Regions from separate parts of the Homo sapiens genome. Here all the other regions are linked to region 2. The links are contacts of gene promoters, found by promoter capture Hi-C in blood cells and fetal thymus (Javierre and others, 2016). All regions are on one chromosome and are shown on one strand. The core of a region is centred on a gene start or on the middle of the fragment in contact, and the rest is flanking DNA. Distances in the headings are between cores, read along the strand shown.

Evidence for each region. The method cuts DNA at HindIII sites, captures the fragments that hold promoters and counts their contacts. A CHiCAGO score of 5 or more calls a contact.
Region 1: a contact is called between a fragment that was not itself captured here and the fragment with the promoter of APLNR in region 2, in 1 of 17 cell types (endothelial precursors). The highest score is 5.2, in endothelial precursors.
Region 3: a contact is called between a fragment that was not itself captured here and the fragment with the promoter of APLNR in region 2, in 1 of 17 cell types (endothelial precursors). The highest score is 6.1, in endothelial precursors.

Annotation. Positions count from the first base shown.
Region 1 is chr11:57,096,010-57,099,178 of GRCh38, reverse strand. The region is part of intron 6 of LOC105369309 (a long non-coding RNA gene); the gene reads left to right. Among named protein-coding and RNA genes, the nearest start is that of LRRC55, 84 kb to the left of the region's middle. The HindIII fragment of the contact is 987 bases long and covers 805-1,791 here.
Region 2 is chr11:57,236,000-57,239,204 of GRCh38, reverse strand. It overlaps APLNR (apelin receptor), which reads left to right and starts at 1,955. Exons shown (of 1, transcript NM_005161.6): 1 at 1,955-3,205. The coding sequence starts at 2,201. RefSeq lists an enhancer at 1,681-2,313. The HindIII fragment of the contact is 5,179 bases long and covers 1-3,205 here.
Region 3 is chr11:56,994,254-56,997,398 of GRCh38, reverse strand. No RefSeq gene overlaps it. Among named protein-coding and RNA genes, the nearest start is that of OR5AK2, 6.9 kb to the right of the region's middle. The HindIII fragment of the contact is 3,313 bases long and covers 1-3,145 here.

The DNA.
Region 1 (3,169 bases), core at 49-2,548, 140 kb after region 2:
ATTTAGAGCATTCACATGCCACACAGTACCACCTGATAGATTTCTTTTTATTGTGGTATAATATATATAGCATAACATTTATCATTTTAACCATTTTTAAATTACAGTTCATTAGCATTCATTATATTCATATTGGGCATTTACCTAATAGATTTTGTTTGTTTTTATATTTCTAGGATCTGTAGAGTGCTTTGCACAAAAATTTGACCCGTTGTAATTATTTAATAAGCTCCTTCCCTGTCCCTCCACCAGCCTTCATAAACTCTAAAATGCTGCAGAGGTTTCAGTTACTATTCTGAGAATTAATGAGGAATCCTAAGTGACCTTGGGCATTTTATGACTTAACTTCTCTCTGGCTCAATTTCTTCATCTGTGAAATGGAGATTACAGTACCAGTCACTTGTTGGGGTGGTTGGAAATGACATAACCTGTGTGATGCTTTGGATAGTTCTAGCCATGTTAAACACCCAATGCATGATAGTGATAATGTTCTTATTTTATCATAGTCCTTGTCCCTGAGAAGGCACACTTGCATGGGTGCAGAGGGATTGGAGGCTGGCTCTGGTTCAAGACGGCTGCTTTTCCTCAGTTCCCTCCCTGCTATCCCGACAGTGGGGGCTCAGGAGAGACTGAACAATTGTGCAAACAAGAGGAGTGAGCCTTTCAGGAGACCACAGAACTTTTTGTTTTATAAAAAGCTTCAAATCAGGCTGCCATAGTGGCCTTGGTATTTTTGTATCTATCTTTTCAGCTTCTATTTAGAGTGCAGAGTTGGCGTGGGAATGTTTTCCTTTATTTCAAGCTTTAAGTAGTTGTTGGGTAACAGCTGTTTTTAAAGATAATCTTTGAGGCACTGAGATGCTGCTGTAAAAACAAATTTCTTGAATACAAAAAAGTCTTCCTTATTTTATGTGCTGGATTTTATTTTTCTGCATGCTTTTGTTCATGCTGTCACTTCTAGAATTCTCTTTCTATCCTAACTCTTGCTCCTCTGCTATTGTCAAAATCATCCCCATTCTCTTGCTGACATTTGTCTCGTGCAGCATTCCCCATTCCCTCATCGATGACATTCTATGGGCCTCGTATGAGTGCTCTGCCTTGAGTGTTGGTTAGTTCTAAATAAGGCATTCGTACCTTGATTGCAGCTTCTGGAGACTATAAGGTCTTGTTCTATTCATAACTATTTCCTGCTTGTCATTAAGTAGAAAACTACTGTATATCTTTCTCTTTGTCAAATTAATATCCAAACACTCTACTTGTTTTGGTGGGGGGGACCCTAAATAAGTATATAGAATGTTCTCTCCTCTTGCCACAGATGCAAGATGAGACACAAAGGGATCCATCTTCTCTGTCCTCTGGCTGGTGGAACACAGCAAAAATCATGGCCAGTGTTAGCGTTAGCATTGCTCATTCCTGCTTAAGCCTGATTTCCAGCCTTCCTTTCAGCATTGCAAGCTACCAGAAACCCCCTAAAAATAATTTTCTGTTTAATTTAATTAATCCTGGTTTCTGTTGTTTGCAATTGCAACCAATAAGTTTTACTAGTATAGTATTTTGAACACAGTGGAAACTGCAGGATCTACAGATCCTGTTTATAAACTTCAGTTTGCTAAAATCCCATGTAGTAATCTGTTTTTTAGGCCTCTTCAGTCTTCTGATGCCTGATGTCCCTTCTGATACTAGCAGCCTGATTTTATTTTTCCAAACCACTTATCTCTATTCTTAGTCCTTGTGGTTCAAGTGGAGTTGACTCCAGTCATGCCTACAGGGTAGGCATGTCTGGACAAAGCTTTGAAGCCCTCTGGCTACCATGATTGGTTCAGGGATGGGCATGTGACTTCATCCAGGCCAATGAGAGTCAGTCCCAGGACTGTTGCGGGATCTACAGGGAAATAAATGTGTCCTTTTGCTGTAGCTGCTAAGTTGGTTGGCTGGAGTTCCCAGGGACCACCATGAGGGAGGGTCGACCTGAGAATTCAGCAGTGTCAGAGGAAAACAAGCTGAGAGAGGAAGAGAAAGAAATTTCTAATGACATTGCTTGAGGAACTGGATTGGAATGTGCCTGAGTTGTAATAGTAACAGCTAACATATATTAAATACATACTATGTACCAGGCATTGATGCAAGCATTTCTTATATTGTATTAGTTTCCTGGGCCGCCATAGCAAAAGTACCACAAACTGGGTGGCTTAAAACAACAGAAATTTATTTTTTCATGATTCTGGATTCCAGAAGTCCAAATTCAAACTATTGGCAGGTTCATGCTTCCCCTTATGAACTGAATTTTGTGCCCCCCACCCCCTTGCCATTATATGTTGAAGTCCTAACTCCCAATGTGACTGAATTTGGACATAGGACCCATAAGGAAGTAATTAAGGTTAAATGAAGCCATAAAGATGGGGTCTGGGCCGGGCGCGGTGGCTCACGCATGTAATCCCAGCACTTTGGGAGGCCAAGGCAGGCGGATCATGAGGTCAGGAGATTGAGACCATCCTGGCCAACATGTGGAACCCCATCTCTACTAAAAAATACAAGAATTAGCTGGGCGTGGTGGCACGTGCCTGTAGTCCCAGCTAGTCAGGAGGCTGAGGCAAGAGAATCGCTTGAACCTGGGGGGCGGAGGTTGCAGTGAGCCTAGATAGCGCCACTGAGCTCCAGTCTGGCAACAGAGTGAGACTCCGTCTTTAAAAGAAAAAAAAAAAAGAAAAAAGAGAAGGGGTCTGGATCTCACAGGATTAGTGTTTTTAGAGACAAGACACCAGAAACCCATCTCTCCTCCACCACCCCACCATATAAGGACACAGCAAGAAGGTGACCATCCTATCTGCAAGCCAGACAGAGAGCTCTAAACAGAAACTGACTCTGCCAAATCTTCATCTGGGACTTCTAGCCTCCGGAAGTGTGAGAAAATAAATTTATGTTGATTAAGCTGCCCGGTTTATGGTATTTTTTTTTTAAATGGTAGCCCAGACTAATACACTTCCTCTGAAATCTGTAGGCCAGAATCCTTCCTGGCCTCTTTCAGCTTCTGGTAGACACAGGCATTCATTGTCTTGCAATGACAGCACTTCAGTCTCTTGCCTTATTATCACATGGCATTTTCCCCTTGAGTCTGTCTCTGTGACTCTTCACTTCTTAAAAGGGTATCAGTCATGTTGGATTAAAGGCC
Region 2 (3,205 bases), core at 706-3,205:
CTATGATGGAATGGGCACCCTCCAGTTTGCCACAGTCTTTACCATTCTCTGTTGTCTCAAACTACACTCTTGGCCTGTTTTTTTTTTTTTTTTTTGCAGGTATTTGAGTTTGAGTTCCTTGATCTCTGCATATGATTTTCTGATCCACTCTCCCTCCAGAAAATGGATTCCAGCTTTTGTAGTAACTTAAGACAAATATATATCGTGAGACAGGGTCTTGGCTGTGTTATTCAGGCTAGTCTTGAACTCCTGGGCTCAAGCAGTCTTCCTGCCTTGGCCTCCCAAAGTGCTGGGATTATAGGCATGAGCCACCTTGCCTGGCCAATTCCAGCTTTTGTAAGTCTTTTGCCTTGGAAGTGGCTAAGGCTCAGCTCCTGCTTTTGTTCCATCTCACTATTACCCAACGTCAGGTGGCTTCCCCAACTCTTCAAGGTTGTGGAAAGGGTGCGTATTTTTTAAAAAAAATCTTACGTCGTGCATCTTCCTTCCTTCCTAGAGGTCCTGGAGAGGTGATGAGCTGGGGCAAAGTGAGCGTCTACGGAACTTTCCCCACAGTATCCTCCAGTGACTGAGTCTTTCTCTAGAGACCCCCCTCCTCTAGCTCAACTTCCTGACCCCCTGTGGTCTTACAGAAACCTCTTGGTCCATGGAGGATAGTAAAAACCTGAGAACTGAAATGTATCCATGTTCTCACCACGTAGTAATTCTTACACTTGTTCTTCCATCTATGGATTCCCCTTTTCACTCACCTCCTACATCATCCATCCACTTACTCACTCAACAGCCATTCACCTGGCTGGGCGTGGTGGCTCATGCCTGTAATTTCAGCACTTTGGGAGGCCGAGGTGGGTGGATCATCTGAGGTCAGGAGTTTGAGACTAGCCTGGTCAATCCCCATCTCTACTAAAAATACAAAAAAATTAGCCTGCAATCCCAGCTACTAGGGAGGCTGAGGCGGGAGAATCGCTTGAACCCAGGAGGCAGAAGTTGCAGTGAGCCTAGACCAGCCTGGGCAACAAGAGTGAAACTCTGTCTCAACAAACAAACAAACAAACAAAACAGCCATTCACCTACGACATGCCAGGTACTGTATTATGTTCGTGTTTGGAGAAGAAGAAAAGCAAACAATCAACTGTAGCATAATTCACTTTATTACCTTGGGCAAAACATTGACCTTGTTGGGCCTTTGTTTCCTACAGATTTAATGACTTGTTTAGAGATAATTTTGTCCTGGGTTTCTTCCATCCTGTGACTGCCCTCAACCTTCTAAAGCATCCTGTGCCTTCCGCAAACTGCAAACTGCAGTCTACACTAGTGTAGGGGTATTTCTCTAGAAACCACAAAAGTTCTCAGAGGGAGGGTCAAAGCCAAGGGGTAGAGAAAGATGAAGCGAGAGGCAAAGTGGGAGAAGACCCTCCTGTGACACCTGGTCTGGGTGGGGGCTGGGGGTGCAGGAAGGGAGCCGAGGGGGCCAGACCTGCCTGCCAGGAGGACCTGCCAGATGCCCTGCCCATCCTGCGAAATCTTACACCCTCCTTGCTCCCTACCAGCCCTGGCTCCAGCTCAAGCTGGATTGCAATCTGCATAATGTGTCCCATTTAGATTGGATGGAAGGGGGTGAGAACAGGAGGGCGGAGAGCACTGAGGAGGGAGTGCCCTAAAGGGCAGGCAGGAAGTGGTGGCCAGAGGAAAGTGGAGGGATAGGGGCTGGGGTGAAGGTGGGTGGCAGCCAGAAAGGAGAGGCGGGGCCAGGAAAGCCGACTTGCAAAACCACAGATAATGTTCAGCCCAGCACAGTAGGGGTCAATTTGGTCCACTTGCTCAGTGACAAAAAGAAAAAAAAAGTGGGCTGTCACTAAAGATTTTGACTCACAAGAGAGGGGCTGGTCTGGAGGTGGGAGGAGGGAGTGACGAGTCAAGGAGGAGACAGGGACGCAGGAGGGTGCAAGGAAGTGTCTTAACTGAGACGGGGGTAAGGCAAGAGAGGGTGGAGGAAATTCTGCAGGAGACAGGCTTCCTCCAGGGTCTGGAGAACCCAGAGGCAGCTCCTCCTGAGTGCTGGGAAGGACTCTGGGCATCTTCAGCCCTTCTTACTCTCTGAGGCTCAAGCCAGAAATTCAGGCTGCTTGCAGAGTGGGTGACAGAGCCACGGAGCTGGTGTCCCTGGGACCCTCTGCCCGTCTTCTCTCCACTCCCCAGCATGGAGGAAGGTGGTGATTTTGACAACTACTATGGGGCAGACAACCAGTCTGAGTGTGAGTACACAGACTGGAAATCCTCGGGGGCCCTCATCCCTGCCATCTACATGTTGGTCTTCCTCCTGGGCACCACGGGCAACGGTCTGGTGCTCTGGACCGTGTTTCGGAGCAGCCGGGAGAAGAGGCGCTCAGCTGATATCTTCATTGCTAGCCTGGCGGTGGCTGACCTGACCTTCGTGGTGACGCTGCCCCTGTGGGCTACCTACACGTACCGGGACTATGACTGGCCCTTTGGGACCTTCTTCTGCAAGCTCAGCAGCTACCTCATCTTCGTCAACATGTACGCCAGCGTCTTCTGCCTCACCGGCCTCAGCTTCGACCGCTACCTGGCCATCGTGAGGCCAGTGGCCAATGCTCGGCTGAGGCTGCGGGTCAGCGGGGCCGTGGCCACGGCAGTTCTTTGGGTGCTGGCCGCCCTCCTGGCCATGCCTGTCATGGTGTTACGCACCACCGGGGACTTGGAGAACACCACTAAGGTGCAGTGCTACATGGACTACTCCATGGTGGCCACTGTGAGCTCAGAGTGGGCCTGGGAGGTGGGCCTTGGGGTCTCGTCCACCACCGTGGGCTTTGTGGTGCCCTTCACCATCATGCTGACCTGTTACTTCTTCATCGCCCAAACCATCGCTGGCCACTTCCGCAAGGAACGCATCGAGGGCCTGCGGAAGCGGCGCCGGCTGCTCAGCATCATCGTGGTGCTGGTGGTGACCTTTGCCCTGTGCTGGATGCCCTACCACCTGGTGAAGACGCTGTACATGCTGGGCAGCCTGCTGCACTGGCCCTGTGACTTTGACCTCTTCCTCATGAACATCTTCCCCTACTGCACCTGCATCAGCTACGTCAACAGCTGCCTCAACCCCTTCCTCTATGCCTTTTTCGACCCCCGCTTCCGCCAGGCCTGCACCTCCATGCTCTGCTGTGGCCAGAGCAGGTGCGCAGGCACCTCC
Region 3 (3,145 bases), core at 389-2,888, 240 kb after region 2:
TGTTCTCAGGCAAAAACCTTATACAAACAATTAAACAGGTCGATAATGCTTGTGAGACCTGCTTTAAAAACAATCCTCTTAATTGATGGCTTCTTCCCTCAGGAACCCAGAGGACAAAGGCTACCTTTTGGCAAATGGATTTCACTCATATGCCAAAAGCAAGAGGCATCCAGAATCTCCTAGTATGGATAGATGCTTTCATTAACTGGGTAGAAGAATTTCCATGTTGGACAGAGAAAACCTCTGAGGTGATAAAAGTACTAATCAATGAGATAATTCCTCACTTTGGACTCCCTAAGTGCCTCCCGAGTGATAATGGCTCTTTGTTCAAGGTGACTGTCACCTAGGGGGTCTCAAAAGCACTAGGTATACAGTACCATCTTTTTTGTGCCTGGAGACCACAGTCCTTAGGAAAGGTAGAAAAGACAAATGATATTATCAAAAGGTACCTCAGGAAACTCTCAGGAAACTCGTCTCTGCTGGACTACCCTTCTCCCCTTATCCCTGCTATGTATTAGAAACACTCCTTCAAAGCTGGGTTTGAGTCTCTTTGAGAAACTCTCAGGAAACTCATCTCTGCTGGACTACCCTTCTCCCCATATCCTTGCTACATATTAGAAACACTCCTTCAAAGCTGGGTTTGAGTCTCTTTGAAATGATGTATGGACAGCCTTTTCTCACCAATTATTTCTTTCTAGACCAAGAAACCTCTGATTTAATTAAATACATAACCTCGTTGGCCCATTTCCAACAGAAACTGCAACAATTGTCAGAGGCCCAATCCCATGAACCAGGGCGACCTCTATTATTAACTTAGGGTCCCTAGTGCTAGTAAAGGCATTTCCTTCCTTTTCTTCCTCTATAGGCCTAGGTTGAGAGGGACCTTACACTTTTCTTCTTTCTACTCTTAGGGCAGTGAAGGTCACAGAAATAGACTCTTGAATTCATTATACCTGAGTAAAGGCCTGGGAAGGTGATGGAGTCACCGCCGTTGACCCAGAAGAGCACCCAAAGTACCAATGTGAAGAGATCATGGACCTCAAGCTAAAAATCACAAAAGATAAGTGTTATGAATTTAACTTCCATGGATATCCTCCTTATAGTGTTGCCTATGCTTGCTGTTCTTACCTTTGTTCTGTTCTATACCATGGGGCACAATAGTGTTTTTAGAATAATTACCATTCTTATTCTGTACACTTCTTATTTCTGTAATCTTTGGCACTAGATTCTTTCCTTGTATAATACACATTTAACGCATGCACACTTAACCTTACAAAACTTGTTTTTTTTTTTCTCTCTCACATAGAGGCCATCAAACTCCAAACAGTCAGGCAATCTGACCCTCAGACGATGGTTCCCCTTTGCCAGGGACTCTTAGATAGACCTCTAGGAAGAATCTGACTGCCATTTTCCCCAAAACTATGCCCACTGTCAACAAGAAGTAGCTAAGATTGGTCATCGCCCATATTCTAGCAGCAGTTAGATGTGCCTACTCAGAGGGGGAAATGATATGGACAGGAGACAGGGAAATACTGGGTAGAAGAGGGCAGTACCCTGGCAAAGGCCTAACTCTCAAGCCTGGAGACCCATGGCCCTAAGTAGGAACAGGCATTTCTGTTTTTGCACCCAAAATATTGCCTTTTGGCCCACCATGCCCCCCCTTATCCTCAACCCATATAAACCCCAAACACCAGGCTTCAGAAGCAGATGAGACGAGACAAGGAGACAAACAAGACAAATGGCAGAATGGTGTGGCAGAGAGAGAGAGAGAAGAAAAGGAATGACTGAACAGCAAGAGGAGTTCAGCTGGGGGCAATCGAAGAGGAGTTTGGCCAATGTATGGCCAAAACTCCAGGGGAAGGTCATCCTCTTACTCTTTCCCCCTTCCAGTTCTCCATCCATCCCACTGAGAACCACTTCAATAACTACACATTCACCCTTCAAGCTCATGTGTGACCTGATTCTTCTGGGATGCTGGACAAGAGCTCGGGATGCAGAAAGCTGTCACACTGGCCGTTTGCCCTTGTGGGTAGGCAGAGGATTCACTGAGCTGGTTAACACTTAAGCCCTCTGCAGATGGCAAGGCTAAAAGAGCATTGTAACACTGGGGCTGCAGGCACCCACCCCTGGACACTACCATGGGGCTGGAGACCAAAGCACACATTCTGGCTCCTGCAACTGCTCATCTCCATGCTCACCCTCCTGTCAGGGGTTTGAGCAGTGGTGGCTTGCTTGGTGGCAGCCAAACAGGCAAGCCACACCCCTGTCACACTTCCTGTGAGGAGGATCAGGGAAGTCTCTCATTTTAATATGATATGGTTTGGTTGTGTCCCCACCCAAATCTCATCTTGAATTGTAACTCCCACTATTCCCACTTGTCATGAGAGGAACCCGGTGGGAGGTGACTGAATTATAGGGGTGAGCTTTTCCTGTGCTGTTCTCATGACAGCAAATGAGTCTTATGAGATCTGATGGTTTTAAAAATGGGAGCTCTCTTCTCTTTTCTGTCACCATCTGAGATGTGCCTTTCACCTCCCACCATGATTGTGGGGCCTCCCCATGCCATGTGGAACTGTAAGTTCAATAAAATTCTTTCTTTTGTAAATTGCCCAGACTCAGGTATGTTTTTATCAGCAGCATGAGAACAGATTAATACAGTAAATTTGTACCAGGAGTGGGGTGCTGCTGAAAAGATAACCTGAAAATGTGGAAGTGACTTTGGAACTGGGTAACAGGCAGAGGTTGAAACAGTTTGGAGGGTCCAGAAGAAGACAGAAAAATGTGGGAAAGTTTGGAACTCTCTAGAGACTTATTGAATGGCTTAGCCCCAAATGTTGATAATGATATGGACAATAGAATTCAGGCTGAGTTGGTCTCAGTTGGAGATGAGGAACTCTTTGGGAACTGGAGCAAAGGTGATTCTTGTTATGTTTTAGCAAAGAGACTGGTGACATTTTGCTCCTGCCCTAGAGATCTGTGGAACTTTGAACTCAAGAGAGATGATTTAGAATATCTAATGCAAGAAATTTCTAAGCAGCAAAGCATTCAAGATGTGACTTGCATGGTGTTAAAGAAATTCAATTTTAAAAGGGAAACAAAGCATGAAAGTTTGGAAAATATGTAGCCTGACAATGTGATAAAAAAG